3 separate regions of the Homo sapiens genome follow, and all the other regions are linked to region 1. The links are contacts of gene promoters, found by promoter capture Hi-C in human tissues and cell types (Jung and others, 2019). All regions are on one chromosome and are shown on one strand. The core of a region is centred on a gene start or on the middle of the fragment in contact, and the rest is flanking DNA. Distances in the headings are between cores, read along the strand shown.

Evidence for each region. Contacts are between HindIII fragments. The study calls those that stand out against the background at their distance.
Region 2: a fragment that was not itself captured here is called in contact with the fragment with the promoter of MYO18B in region 1 in 2 of the 25 tissues and cell types used here (H1 embryonic stem cells and dorsolateral prefrontal cortex).
Region 3: a contact is called between a fragment that was not itself captured here and the fragment with the promoter of MYO18B in region 1, in 1 of the 25 tissues and cell types used here (dorsolateral prefrontal cortex).

Annotation. Positions count from the first base shown.
Region 1 is chr22:25,740,837-25,743,897 of GRCh38, forward strand. It overlaps MYO18B (myosin XVIIIB), which reads left to right and starts at 1,352. Exons shown (of 44, transcript NM_032608.7): 1 at 1,352-1,457. The HindIII fragment of the contact is 19,978 bases long and covers 1-3,061 here.
Region 2 is chr22:25,421,866-25,425,016 of GRCh38, forward strand. LOC124905095 (a long non-coding RNA gene) reads right to left here. Exons shown (of 2, transcript XR_007068037.1): 1 at 1-3,151. Among named protein-coding and RNA genes, the nearest start is that of MIR6817, 32 kb to the right of the region's middle. The HindIII fragment of the contact is 5,143 bases long and covers 1-3,151 here.
Region 3 is chr22:26,058,935-26,062,153 of GRCh38, forward strand. It overlaps a transcript of MYO18B not described here. Among named protein-coding and RNA genes, the nearest start is that of LINC02559, 92 kb to the right of the region's middle. The HindIII fragment of the contact is 7,714 bases long and covers 1-3,219 here.

The DNA of each region.
Region 1 (3,061 bases), core at 102-2,601:
CTTTGGGAAAATATTGCTCGATGAGCTCTGGGGAAAGAGGAGCAGCACCACATAGCAATTATTGAAACAATTCTCACAGGAGCAGTATCATGCTGGGCTGATTGCGGTCTTTGGAACCAGAAAGACTTGGATTTGAGTCATGACTCTACCCTTTGCTAGCTGCATGGACCTGCATGGTTTATCCAATTTATTGAAGTCTGTACTTTGCTCCTTTTAGGCAGTGGACAAAGCACTTTTTTTGTTGTTGTTTTTTTGAGATAGAGTCTCTTATCGCCTAGGCTAGAGTGCAGTGGCGTGACCTTAGCTCATTGCAACCTCCGCCTCCTGGGTTCAAGCAATTCTCCTGCCTCAGCCTCCCAAGTAGCTGGGATCACAGACAACCACTACCCCACCCAGCTGATTTTTTTTTTTTTTTTTGAGATGGAGTCTCTCTCTGTCACCCAGGCTGGAGTGCAGTGGCGCGATCTCGGCTTACTGCAAGCTCCGCCTGTAGCTGGGACTACAGGCGCCCACCACCACGCCCGGCTAATTTTGTTTTTGTATTTTTAGTAGAGACGGGGTTTCACTGTGTTAGCCAGGATGGTCTCAATCTCCTGACCTCGTGATATGCCCACCTCGGCTTCCCAAAGTGCCGGGATTACAGACGTGAGCCACCGTGCCAGGCCCAAAGCACTTTTTTATAGCCCCTAGTTTGCTGTTGTGTCTGTTTCCTCTACGGCCCGCACAGCCTGGGTTTGAATTCTGGCTCTCCATGGCCTTGGGCAAGTTGGTTAACTTTTTGTGTCTCAATTTCCCCACTTGTAAAGTGGGGCTGGGGAAAAACCCTACCTCATAGGGAACATTAAGTGAGTTCATGAAAGCCCTCGGTGTGTGGCATGCGATAACCACTACCTAAGCATAAGGTATGTTTACATGCACTGGTTGTTTACCACGACGCACCAGCATTCATTCAAGTTATTTTCTTCCAGAGTCTGCCTGGAATGTAGAACCGGCCAGCTCTCCTCCTCAAACAGTTCCTGCAACCTCTGGTTATCTGTGTGGGCAGAGGCGGGAGTGTGGGTGTGTGGCCCTGCCCTGGGACAGGGATGACGAGAGAGCATGTGCTTGTGTCCAGAGCTGTCCCCTTCCCTGCTCAGGGGCCACCAAATATGTCCATGGTCTCTGCTGCCTGGTCAACGGCCACCCCGGGCTGCCGTCTCCTGGCCAGACCTGGAGCTCACAAGCTAATTTTAGAAATGACTGGTCGACTCAGCTGCTGCTATCACATTGGCCCAGAAGGAGGGTGGGGGGAGGACGGGTCGGGGAGGGGCAGTAAGGGGAAGGGATGTGTGTCGGTGTGTGTGGAGAGGGTGCTCCTTCGCTCCTGCTTTCCCGGCTCGGTGGGGTCCCTTCGCGGCCACCCGGGGAGACGTCTTAGACAGTCGTGGTTCCTGTGATCTGTGTCCTCTTTGCAGAAGGTACTATTGGGCTGGGTTTTAGACGGGCACCTTGCGAGCGGATCGGCGAGTTTTAATTTTCCGGAATGCGCTGCTGGGGGCTGCGGTGGCAGGCCTCCGGTCTTTTGGTCTATTTTAGGCCTTTCTGGTGTTGAGAGCTTCCGAGGCCTGATTCCTTTGCCTGTTGCCCGTGCTGCTCACTTTGAAAACAAGAGTGTTTCGGTGGAAGGATTTGAGAACAAAATGCTGGGGCAAATGGACATTCGTAAGAATCACTCTCCTCAGGCCCCAGCTGTTCGCTAATAATTTTTAAAAATGTGTTTAGAATCATGAGTTAATCTCCACTGTGAATCTTTGCCCGCAGACGTCAGGGTTTATATTTTTCCTCAACTACCAGTAATTTCTGCTTCACTGGTGTTCAGTTATGGTCGGGGAAGAGCCAGGCTTCCCCTTTCGTGTTAACAACGCTGTTGAGTCGAAATGTTAATTTTAATGTTCTTTTTTAAACTGCAAATTAAGCATGTATGAGTGTTGGGGGAAGGGCAATGGAAGTTCATGGCTGAAGGTTTCAATTTCATGCCACCTTCCTTGAGCTCTGTCTGAGGGAAGGTGTCTTATCTGGCACCCCGGATAGCAGGCATTTCTCTGAATGAAGAAGATTCACAGGTCCCAGTGGCCCCATAGTGGGGCAGAAGGGGGCTATGCTTTGACATGGAGCTCTCTCCCAGGAGAGGAGAAGACCTCACCAGCTACAGGCCTCTGGGCTGCTGCCTTCCTGCAGCTTTTCCATGGAGGAGGCCAGGAGTGGGGAGGCCCGGAATGGGGAGCCCAGTCGGCTCCCAGTCGGCTCCAAGCTGTCCAGTCTGGCCTCAACCCGCAAGTGTGGGGATCTGGGCTTCTATCCTGTAGGGCCTGGAATACGACGAGGCTGTTACTTTCACTTTGTGGCTGTCCAAAAAGATGCTGCCTCATTCAGTGCACCAGCTCATGGAGGCTGAGTGTCCCACTAGGGCTTCTAGACTCCAACAAGGATAATGGTGGCCTTGGGTGCTGTATCCATTGCTGACCTAAGTTGTATTCTCCTATGCCTGGGTACCATGTCCAGTGTGTACCTTGGGAGCAGAAAAGAGAGGGGTCTATATACTCTTAGGCTATGGATGAGTTCTAGAAAATAATAGTGGAGAGGAGAGAGAGAAAAGAAGGAAGAGGAGGAGGAGAAGGAGAAGAAGAGAAGGAGGAGGAGGAAAAAAGCAGGAGGAGAAAGAGAAGAAGGAGGAGAAGAATAATAGCAAAGGAAAAGGCCAAAAGAAAAGGCCAAGTGGGTGGAGGAGGGAGGAGAAGGAGGAAGAGGAGGAGGAGAGGGAGTCTCCTGGTCTCCTGGCTTTTGAAGGGCTGCATGTTACCAATCAACAAATATTTGATGTCACCTGCCTCCAGGCCTGGTCACCTTGAATATCCTGGTGTGGGCTCTGTAACCTTGGATGAGTACTCTCCCCAGTCGGAACTTAGTTTCTCCTTCTAAAACCTGAGGGGGTTGGGCTAGACCACCTCTGGGATCTTTCCTAGGATTCAGCATCCAGGAAGGTTTTTCTTGAAGTGACGGTCGTTGACGACCTACCCATCAG
Region 2 (3,151 bases), core at 444-2,943, 320 kb before region 1:
TTCAGTGCTTGCTCTTCTTGAAGTCCCTAAGTCTAGTCACCTTCTTCGTCTCCTCTTCTATTGTCTGCCCAGGCAGGATTTCGACCCACTCAGTATTCTTTTTGGTGCCAAGTGTGTCACCTGAGCTGCTTTCCTCAACTTGCAGATCTACTGGTAGTACTTTATTAAAAAATTGAAATGGGATTCATTTAAAAAGGCACTTGAATGGATGATTCCAGACAGGAATTTGTTGTTAAATTATCAAAGGAGGGCCTGATTGAATTGGCGAGGGGCTCGGTGAGGTCCATACCAAGTTGCAATTTTCCCTCAAATGATTTATTATTAAGGAACTAGTAAAATTTTTTGCCAGCTCATGTCATTAGCACTTCCCCGGAAAAAAATAGTTCATCAGGTTAATAGTGAGTTTTAAATAATGTATCAAGGCTTCAGCGATGGATTTTTTTTTCTCTAGCTCCTTTCCTAATTAACACCATCATGAGTTGTACAGCTAATGAGGTTCCTTAATGCTAAATAGCTCTTTGAATTGATGCTCAAAAGAGGCATTTTCTTTATGGTGAATTTGAAACCATGCAATTCTATAAAATGTTGGAATTTAAACCAAAGTTATTGTCCATTTGAAATCATCAGTCCTTCAAGTGTTAGGCGCCCAAAATTGCTTAAATGTTACCTAATGCTAAGTGATCATAATGTGATTTTTTTACAAGTCCATCTATGAGCCCTATGATACAGAAAATACCAGTCCCCTTGTTATTTCTTGTGAAAAAGCTAAATTGTGCAAATGAAGACATGCTTGCTAGATATTTTGGGCTTGCTTCTCCCTCCTTAGCCCATGCCTCTTGTTGGTTTTGCAGGATGTGCTACTCTTTGATAGACAATGCCAAGTAGTGAAAATAAGGAAAAAGTGCAAACCCTTCTGCAATGTCGTGAGTTTAACACCCCTATGCCAGAGTGTAGCATATCAGAAGCTAATTGAAAAAATCAATGCTGCTTAAAATTTCTGGCAAATGGGAAACTTACTTAGAGAACAAGAACTCCTATATCAAACCTAAATTTCACCAAAAAAACTGAATATTTCTATAAAGGTGGTAGAAAATTCCTTTTTCTCTTGCCTTTCCTAGTGTCCCTCCGCCACCCAAGGTCAGGGAGTCCTGAATATGTAGGGTTTCTAGATATAAAATTGATAAATCTCAACTCATGGGCAGTTTTTTTGGGGGGGGGTAGTATATAATATTACTAAAGTTAGGAACTTCTGTTCAGTTTTTATTTTTTTTCTTGGGGTTTCCTTTTTTAGTGTCCCTCTTAAGAACATACTTATGTGCTTAGGATGTTCACTTCCTTGTATGAATGCCTTTGTTTTTCAGTGGTATTCTTTGTTAATGCTTTAAGGCAGAGTAAGTGACAGCCAGCATATTTCTCGTGACATTTGAAAACTGAGAAATACCAACCAGAGAGTAATTTTAGGAAACAGCCCTTCAGTAATTGTTATTCTGTTGCTCTTTTTAAAATAGACTCTCCAATTGGGCCATTGGAACCTCCTCCTGAGATTCCAATTTGTTTCCTTTTTTCTTTTCTTTTTTTTTTTTTTTTTTTTGAGATGGAGTCTAGCTCTGTCGCCCAGGCTGGAGTGCAGTGGCACAATCTTGGCTGACTGCAACCTCTGCCTCCCAGGTTCATGTGATTCTCCTGCCTCAGCCTCCTGAGTAGCTGGGACCACAGGCGCCTGCCACCACACTTGGCTAATTTTTTTCGCATTTTTAGTAGAGATGGGCTTTCACCATGGTGGTCAGGCTGGTCTCGAACTCCTGACCTCATGATCCGCCCACCTTGGCCTCCCAAAGTGAAGGGATTACAGGCCTTAGCCACCGCACCCCGGCCTGTTTTCTACTTATCTTAGTGGCTTTGGCTTTAGTTTTATAATGTAGCCATTTACATAGTAACAGTCACTCCTTGTGCTGTGTTAGGATTCTGTTACATTGAGATTATCAGGTAAAACATCTTGCAAAATTCTCTCTACCACGGGATGGCAGTCAGTAGCCTACCTGTTTGATTTGGAGGTTGGGGGTTGGGGAATTTCTAGATCCTGTAAGAAAGTTAATTGCGTGTTAAAAGTCTCAGCCTAATGACTTAAATGGCTGGTATGACTTCACGCTGTTGGTAAAAGGGATTCGGGTCAAGTGTTTTTTGACAAGAGTTTCTATATCAGCTTCATTATAGAGGAAGCCATGTGACCGCCAGTTTTTGGTATTCTTGAAAGAGATGTTCAGATTTGTATTTTTAGTATCTGAATGAGAAGCATACATTTTAATTTGCCTTTGGTCTATCACTAGTGATTTTTTTATTTCCAGCTAATTATTTGAAGTCACTATTCTTGGTGCTTCCTTATTTTAGTTACTTTGCCTTTTCCACAATTTTAAAACAGAAGAGCATCAGAACGAAATATCTAGCTAATTTAAATGAAACAATGGGTCTGCAGTTTCCTGCCTATTACAGGAGAGTCTCAGAAAATGGAACATTCTGTCTAGGGGAGATTTTGCTTCCCTGAGATGGCAAGAGGCACACATTTTGTTATGTTGACACATTATTCAATTAACCAATGAGTGCAAATCCTGGAAAAGCTGACTATTTGTCCAAATGGTATAGCTGCTTTAGTTTACTGAAATGTTGTTGAGCTAATGTAGCTGATAATGGGGCCTACTGGGAGTAGTAAACTGTGACCCACAGACTCCCTTGCAGGCCCAGTTAAAACAGGAGCATTTAGATGTGCAGGCCAGTTGTTTTACATCATGTTGGAAAAGAAATACTTTTTTTTTTTTTTTGAGATGGAGTCTTGCTCTGTCACCCCGGCTGGAGTGCAGTGGCGTGACCTGGGCTCACTGCAAGCTCTGCCTCCCAGGTTGATGCCATTCTCCTGCCTCAGCCTCTCGAGTAGCTGGGACTACAGGCACCGCCACCATGCCTGGCTAATTTTTTTTTGTATTTTGTTTTTTTTTTTAGTAGAGACGGGGTTTCACTGTGTTAGCCAGGATGGTCTCCATCTCCTGACCTCATGATCCACCCACCTCGGCCTCCCAAAGTGCTGGGATTACAGGCATGAGCCACCGCGCCTGGCCAAGAAATACTTTTATTTAAGTAAGGTCTAATTCACAAGCAA
Region 3 (3,219 bases), core at 356-2,855, 320 kb after region 1:
AGGGTGGAAGGAGCAGGTTAAAAGTATTAATTTGTTGCATATCAACACTTGTGAGTAAGATAGCTCTTCTCTTTGCCTCTTCACCTTTTTAAAATAAGTGACCATGATAAAAGAAAAGGTTATAGAATTGGGAGAAAAGGACAATATAATATAGGCCCTCCCAAAACCTTTGGGACTGTTTCCCACTATGAGGTAGACTTGGACAAGGACATTTTCTGACTCCCAGAAGTGGTGAATGCCACGTGGTCAGCAAATTCTGTCAAGACTCTTCCAGCCAAACAAGTCTATGTCATCTTGCTTGTTACTTTACCTCTTCAAAGGCAATGGCTACTGGGATGATGGATCTTGGAAGCATTAGCAAATGGAGTCAAAAGAACTAAAGGAAGAGGACCCAAATGTGGAGTGAATGAGACGGAGATTGTGTGAGTTATTAAGTATAGAACAGCCCAACTCCAGGGTGGGAAAAGAGGAATTATGCAAATGCCAGGATAAGCATTTCCACTTTGGAATTCTAAGAAATGAGAGTTTTCTAGAGAAGTTGTTCATCAAGGGAGAAATTCTATGTCAGGAATGTGTCAAAATTTAGAACCAAGCCCCTTTCATAGGCAAGGGAAGCTCAGGTGCCCATTGAGGATGCCCTGAGTTTGGGAAAGAGGACGGTGTCTTCCTGGGCTAAGCAGCTGTCTGCACCACTTTGGATCAATTTCCACTTGAACATGTTGCCACTGCCTCCCAAACTCCATCTTCTAACCCCAAGAATGCATTGTATAGAATTAGTCTCACAATTCCACAGACAGAATTAGCCTCTGCAATGAGAGATCAGCCCTTGACTTGTGGTTAATTACGTACAATTCAAAATCAACCCCCTGTTGTTCACATTTCCCTTGTGCCTGGAGCTCTTGGAAGAAGAAATTGCATGCTGTCCTGGGAAAGGCTGGAGAAGGTGTATGGCACTAGGTTGCAACGTGTTGGCATGTCCTAAAGACACATGTGAGAATAATGTGGTCGATTATTGTGACAGCTGAGGACAGACTTTGCTAGTCAGAATTCTGGGGAAACAACTTTAAGCATAAAAATGTTTCTTTTAAATGATTATTTTATTAGCCTTGTGATCAGTGCAGTACAGGATTCTGTTCCTGTTGAAAGAAGTAAAGCATTCGTACATCCCCAGCGTCCTTTAGTGAGCTCTCTAGGGCAGGGACCAGGGAACTATGGCCTGTGGGCCACATTCTACTCACTCCTTGTTTTTATATAGTTTCATCAGAACATATAATTTGTTTACATATGGTCTATGGCTGCTTTGAACTACAACAGAAGATTTGAGTAGCTGCAGCAGAGACCAAATACCCTGAATGGCTCACAGAGCCTAAAGTATGTACTACCTGGCTCTTTATAGGAAAAAGTTCACCAACCCCTGATTTAAGGAAATATCAGAGAAACCACCTAACCTTGTGTTTTGAAGCTGGATTCTGCTGGTCCATGACCTCCTGACCTTTTCCCTGCTCTGTTCTGCAATGCAGGAAGTTGCAAAGGAGCTGTCTCCCACAGGTGTGTTTGAGGCTCCTGGGTCAACTGGCTTCTGTCTGGATTCAGCAATGGCAGATACTGACAGTAGACTAAAGAGGGAGAAGATTAAACACACACATACACACGTATACACACACAGATATGTATACACACATACACATATACACAAATATACATATACACACATCCACACATTTATACATACGCACACATGCACACTACACACATATGTACATACATACACACATGCACACATACATATACACATGCACACATATATACATATACACATATACATACAAACATGCATACATTTATACATATACACATATGCACATATATGCACATAAACACATGCATACATATATACATATACACAATATACACATATACATATATACACAAACACACAGTTTTACATATACACATATACACACATATACACAAACATACATATACACACATACATTCACACATACACATGCACACACCACATATGCACACATGAACACACATATACACACATACCACATATGCACACACATACACACACACACACACACACAATTCAGTCAGCATCTCCAGTGGCAACTGTGAACCTTCTGTAGCCCCAGCTACTGTTGGCTTGGCCCCCTGTAGTGCCAGCTTCTGCTGAGGAGCCCCAGACCCTGGACTCCAGTAACACTGTCCTTTGACCCTCCAGCCAGGAGGTGGTAGGAGCTTCCTGCTGTACTGTTCTCTGTGATATCCCATGGTTGTTAGTAAATTCCTCAGCCCTTCCATCCCCTGTATAACCAGTTTCTTTTATCAAATTCCTGATTTTAAATCCATAGATTTGTTTCTGTTTTGTTGGTTGGATCCTGACAGGTCCAGGTCCTGACCCTGAATCCTGGCCATAGCACCAAAGTCCTGTTAGGGTCTGCTTTCTGTTTTCCACCTTGATGGGGCTGTTGGAGTTTTGCTTTGAATACTGGGTGGCTGTGTTCTTCCAAATTGTTGGAGCAGACAGCTTCATTAGCTAAGGAGTCCTTGCTACAATCATGGGCTTCTCTAGCCTCACCAGATGAATATCCATCTCCATCCTCAAATATCTCTCTGCTGCTCACAGTGAGATGGGACCCCAGGGAGGTGGCACTATCATAGCTCTCAGTTCCTGTGTCCCTATTGCCGAGAAACGTCATCTACCACCAAGAAAGGTCATCTACCACCGAGAAAGGTCATCTACCACCGAGAAAGGTCATTCTTCTGATGCTCTTTGCTTGTTTCCACAGTGCTCACACTCCCAACACACCTCTGCCCAACTCCAGCCTAGAATAATAACTCCAACCTCACTCCTACCACAGATTGTTTGGCTTTGATGCTGTCAACATTTGAATCTTGGCCCTTCCTAGCCCATCATTTTTCCATGATTTAAAAATTGATGCTGAAAAACAAAAAAAATCAGTGGTCAGAACATTTAAGAAAATACTGGATTAAACAAATTAAAAGAGGTCTCTTCAATACAGGACTTCTCAGAGCCTTTAAAATAAGAGGCAATTGAGACAGCAGTGTTTTCAAAACTAATTTGAGCATGGAACTTTTCTTCTCTGTGTGGGGATCATCTCATGGGGCTTAGGATCCATGAAACATTATTTGATATGATGAATATTTGTTGTTTCTGTCTGTCCAGATTCCATCTTTCTCTTACCCCCT